2 separate regions of the Homo sapiens genome follow, and region 2 is linked to region 1. The links are contacts of gene promoters, found by promoter capture Hi-C in blood cells and fetal thymus (Javierre and others, 2016). All regions are on one chromosome and are shown on one strand. The core of a region is centred on a gene start or on the middle of the fragment in contact, and the rest is flanking DNA. Distances in the headings are between cores, read along the strand shown.

Region 1 (2,875 bases), core at 120-2,619:
CATATCTCCTTAACCCTCCAGCACCCTTATCCTTCTTGTCCTTTTCTCCATAATATTTATCTGATATATTTTATAATCACTTATTATTTTTTGTCACTTGCCTCCCTCAACAAAAAGGCAATGGAAGCTCCATGAAGACAGAGATTGTTATTTTTATTTACTGATCTGTCTTAAGAGATAAATACAGTTCTTGTCATGACTTGGGAAGGGTTTGAGATTTTATCCTACTTGGAAGCTAAGAAGTTAGCCTGCCACATTATAATGGTTTCTGGCAGAAGGCACAGACTCCTGGCTCAGAGAAAAGGGACTTAATTATTCCATAGCAACAGCCAGAGTATTGGAATTTGTTCTGGTTTCCCAAGCCCCAATTTCCACAGGCCAATTTAAGGGGCATCAAGTGATAGTTGCAGGGAAAGTACAGTGTGTTAAAGGAAAGAAAGGCCAAGCTTTTAAAAACCCGAAATCTTTTGTAAAGGGCAATTAACATGGTCTTTGCCCTAGAAGGAGATATTAACTTTATTACACTAAACAGTAAACAAACCTGCCTTTTGGTGCAGAGGGAGACATTACGTATTTTCTAAGGTCGTTTGTTATATAAACACCCTTAAAAAGATAGTCTGAAACAAAGGTTATCAGTACCTCTACTCATAAGACACACCAAAACATGAGAGAGGATGGAGAATTCTCTTCTAATAACACATGGTAGATATCCAGCACATATTCTCTTTTACCCAGCACATATTCTCAGATGAAAGAGTAACCCTTTGAATTAGGTGTTATTATTATTTTAATTTCCAGATGAATACACAGAAGCACAGCAAAAGTGGCTCCAACAAGCACCCTCTAGCTCCAGAATACACGCTTTAGGGAACTGAGTCCTCTCTCTCTCTTGCTTTCTCTTTCCCTCTCATCTGCCACTCCATCAGCTACTTTAGGTTTTGTGAATGAGTGAGGGAAAAATAGAGAAAAGAGAAAGAAGAATAAGAAAGGAAGAGTGGAGGAAAGGAAAAAAGAATGGAGAGGTTTTACCCTACTTGGAATAAAATTCTTTCTAGTAGCTATCCATACCTGCTCATCTATCCAGAACTACAGAGTAGAAGGGATCTTTGAGTTCATCTTACAGGTGAGAAAACAGGCTTGAGAAGGGAATGACTTTCCCACAACCACAGAGGGAGTTAGGGATCAAACTAACCACTAGAACTATTTTCCTGACAGAATCTTTGCCTTGCATGTTTCAGGCCCACCTGGCTCCTTTCACCTTTCTTACACAGGTGACATTCCCAGAACCTGGAGGCCAGGCTATGACACAGAGTCAATCAATAACCAGGGAGATCTGTGATATAGCCCAGTAGGTGGGGCCTTGCTGCCATCTGCCATATGACCCTTCCAGTCCCAGGCTTCTGAAGAGACGTGGTAAGTGCGGTGCAGTTTTCAACTGACCTCTGGACGCAGAACTTCAGCCATGAAGGTAACAGGCATCTTTCTTCTCAGTGCCTTGGCCCTGTTGAGTCTATCTGGTAAGTGTTGCATATTTTTCAAATTTAAATAAAACTGTTTTGACCTGTTGCTTTGTGAAGCACATTATCTTCTAGACTTTTGATGTAGTCTAGTCTTCGAGAGATGTTTTGGACCTAATGAGATGAAATAAAATCAACAGGTAAGAATTATTTTTTAAGAGGAATTTTTAACCTACTATAAGGAAAACAATTCTACTAGTAAGAAATTCCCAGAAATAAAATGGTTTTCCTCTATTGATGTGGCTGACCCTTTGTTGGGATATGGTAGAGAAAAAAGGGTAAAAATATTTTAACTTTAAGTATACTTCTCATTCTGTAAATGTGTAAGGCCAAATTACAAATTTTAAATTCTCATGGGATTGCATAAAATAGATAAATGGCTTCCAGTTATTCAGTATAAAAGGCATAATTTGACTGATTAAAAATTTATTTTTTTATTGTATAGGTTTCAGTGTACTTGAATCATGTATAGTTTGTCAGATTTATCCCTGAATAGCTAATATATGTGATATAAAGGGAATTTTTTATTTTCAATTCCTGGTATTTCTTATTAGTATCTGGAAATACAAAAATTGCATTTTGTGTATTTACATTACACATTTTGAATGTTTTGAAAGAAAATATTCTGCTTGAATAGATGGTGCACATATACCTCCAACTGCATCTTGACAATGTTGACAGACAACTCTGAACCCGCAGAGCCAAGATCAGTTTCCTTTTTATCACTGGAAATGGTTAACATTTTCAACTTCACCTCTCATGTAGTGAAGGATCCTGTGGAGAGCCAAATCAGCACTTTGCTAAGAAGAGGAAGAATATTGTTTGTTTTATTTGCTGAATATTTATGGCAACAGTCAGTGTTCCCTTTCCCCCTCCTCATGCATGTTAATTAATACAAATAGATGCCTGTGATGAGCACCTGCTCTTCAGTTTTTAGACTCAACTAGATTCTAAAAGCCAGTGGGCCCCCAACAACATCAAGTTCTGACTATCCCGGGGGAAATTCTCCAAGCTCATAGATGCCTCACTAATTTTCATTACATTTAGATACAAAGAACTACCTCTTTGCTCAGATCACCTCAAAGATTGATGATATTAAAATTAATTTTCAGGAATGTTTCCTTATTTGATTGCTATCATATTAGTTCCCTTTCCCTTCCATGAACTTATCCACAGTTATCATTTCCTATATGTTGTCAGCAAAACCTCTGCTATTTTCTGGGGGAATAGAGATTAGCTATTTTGACTACCTGTAAATTCAACAAATGTGAGTTAGACCCATAGTCCATATGATGCAATTGTTGGAAATAGCTCTTTGGGAACTGATAGTGAGTTGGCAAAAGAACTCTATTTTTTCA
Region 2 (2,875 bases), core at 98-2,597, 390 kb after region 1:
CTGGATACTTATTGCCTGCAACAAAGACATCATTTCTCTTACTGCAAATGATTTGAAAGAATTAATGCAGACCTTTATGTCGTCTTTCATATAGAGGAAACTGTCACCATGACTCTTTGAACCAGAATACAACATAGATCTTAATTGAGGTCTCTTTCTGCCTTTGCACGTAAACTACAAAGTCATTAGAGTTATTAGCAGCAACTAGATAGACCAATCTGCATTTGTAAAGCAAACTTGGTATTTTGGAAGTATTGGTTAAGAAGCAGCTCATAGTTCTTTTTGTTTCCCTATTAGGGCTGGACATTTACATGGAATGGTTTTGTGTCTGTGTGTTTCAAAAGATTTTTAGTCTCTTACCCCACTGCACCTGTCAGCTTTCTCTGAGCTACATTTGGAGCTATTCTTATTACTCGTTTTTATTCTAAATGTAATTCTTTGGTTTGAGGGGTGGGGCCAGTTAACACAGATTTTACCAGGCTTATCTCTGGGTACAAACCAGAGAGTTTATGGTTTCAATAGGTTTATGTGTAATGGTAATCACTAGAGCCTTTTAAAGGGAGGACAAAATGGGAGAATCAAAGTATATTCATGGAACCAAAAACCTTTGATTAGAAAGTGTTTGAAGAACTATGTGTGTTATAAGAGTGTCATATATAATATAATCAGGTATGATAAAAGCATTTTGCTATTTTTTATTGCATAAAAGATATTTATTGACCATAAGCTCTGGCAAAAGTTAGTTTAATAATAAGAATAATTCACATTTATTGTACCCTGTGTAAAGTGCTTTTTATTCATTATCTCACTTAATTATCAAAACAACTTAATTAGGTAGATAGATTTTTCACCAGGTCTTTCTTTCCATTTTATTGATGAGGAAATTTAGAGAGATTAAGTAATTTGCCTAATATCACACAAGGCTTAAATGATGGAACCAAAATTCAAACTTAAGTTTATGTGACTTAGAGCCCCCATTCTTAACCCCACGGTATGGTGCTACCTTAAATTATCCCTCCGGAGGGATAATAACTTATCCCTCTCCCACCTCTGGAGTCACAAGACTTTGATTCCAATTGGAGTTCACTTACTTCAAGTCCAGGGGTAAGTCCTTCTCTGCACCTGTTTCCTATAAGGTATGAGTGGTGTAGGTTATGGGGGACATGGAAAACAGTTGGTGCCCCTCTTCTGCAAGGGGGATGGACTCCTTAGCACTGCTTGGCATCAGGAAGCCCTCTAGCCCTCCTGTTAAGAGCGGCTTTGTTTCTGGCATGTCCAAAGCTGCTCCACACTGTTATACTTACACAAACAACTTGCCAGGGAGATTCCCACCACTCTCAGCATCTTTGCATTGAATTAGCAAAACTACCAATTAGGGATTCTTCCTAACGTGAATTTAAATGCCACCTTCTCATTTCATACTCCACACTGCATGCCCCATTCTCTTAAATATATCTTAAGTAAGATTCTTTTGAGGTTTGACTTACTATGGCTCTGTAAAATTCATACTTTCAGAGTCTCCATGGAGATAACTTTTTTCTTTATCTCTCCTTAAAAAAAAAAAAACGGGATACATGTGCAGAACGTGCAGGTTTGTTACATAGGTATACATGTGCCGTGGTGGTTGGCTGCACCTATTGACCCATCCTCTGAGTTCCCTCCCATCACCCCCCCAACCCCCAACAGGCCCTGGTGTGTGTTGTTCTCCTCTCTGTGTCCATGTGTTCTCAATGTTCAACTCTCACTTATAAGTGAGAACATGCGGTGTCTGGTTTTCTGTTCCTGTGTTAGCTTGCTGAGAACGATGGCTTCTAGCTTCATCCATGTCCCTGCAAAGGACATGATCTCATTCCTTTTTATGGCTGCATAGTATTCCATGGTGTATATGTACCACATATTCTTTATCCAGTCTATCATTGGTTCTATGTCTTTGCTATTGTAAATAGTGCTGCAATAAACATACGTGTGCATGTGTCTTTATAGTAGGATGATTTATATTTCTTTGGGTATATACCCAGTAATGGGATTGCTGGGTCAATATTTTTTTTAAGTCTAATGCCCCATCTTATGAATAATAAAACCAACACCCAAGTGGTACCCACCTAATTAGTGTTTTTGCTACTATCTGTTTTACTGTGGGACACAAGGATTTTAAAATTAACTAAGGCTTTTTTTCCATTACAAAATAAGTATGCTGGTTGTAGAAAAATTTACCAAAATCACAAACAATAAGGACAATAAAAATAAGCTACAATGAAATTACTCAGAGAGAACCACTGTAAACTTTCAGTATACCCATCTAGATTTTTTTTTTTGACTATATTTGCCATTTATTAAAATGATTCCACATATTGTTTACGCTGTTTTATGCCTTACTTTTCATTGCACAATATATTACGACATCTTTCCATGTTTTAAATATCCTTCCATAATTTAATTTTTAATAGCTATATATTATTACATTCCTTGGAAAATCTAGTTAAATGAATCTCATTTTTTTTGCATTGTTTTGATTTTTTCCGAGATCTTTGCATTAACAACAAAAATGAAATGACAGATTTATTGTCGGTTGTTTTTTAGTTGAAGCCAAACTAAAAACTGCCTCAGGATGAGAGGTTGAGTAATCTTCCCGAAGTCACTCAGCTCACGAGTATCAGACTACAGATTGAAATCCCAGTGTCTTTACTCTTAGCCTTATATTCTTGTCACCACTCATTCCTTCATTAGTTGTGCCATTTTACATGGAAAACTCTGCTTTCTCTCATTTCCTCCCGCTCTTGAATGAGCACATTTGTTTTCTCACCGCCACCTTTGCCTTCCTCCCTGTCTTGCTGAGGCTGTTGACATTTGTAGAGGTACACTGTGTCTTGGGACC

What was found. The method cuts DNA at HindIII sites, captures the fragments that hold promoters and counts their contacts. A CHiCAGO score of 5 or more calls a contact.
Region 2: a fragment that was not itself captured here is called in contact with the fragment with the promoter of SPINK1 in region 1 in 2 of 17 cell types (fetal thymus and total B cells); the score reaches 5.6 in fetal thymus.

Annotation. Positions count from the first base shown.
Region 1 is chr5:147,830,165-147,833,039 of GRCh38, reverse strand. It overlaps SPINK1 (serine peptidase inhibitor Kazal type 1), which reads left to right and starts at 1,369. Exons shown (of 4, transcript NM_001379610.1): 1 at 1,369-1,517. The coding sequence starts at 1,463. It overlaps LOC124901101 (a long non-coding RNA gene), which reads right to left and starts at 2,535. Exons shown (of 2, transcript XR_007058987.1): 1 at 2,170-2,535; 2 at 1,429-1,631. The HindIII fragment of the contact is 4,964 bases long and covers 449-2,875 here.
Region 2 is chr5:147,442,285-147,445,159 of GRCh38, reverse strand. The region is part of intron 1 of DPYSL3 (dihydropyrimidinase like 3); the gene reads left to right. Among named protein-coding and RNA genes, the nearest start is that of DPYSL3, 66 kb to the left of the region's middle. The HindIII fragment of the contact is 3,197 bases long and covers 1-2,875 here.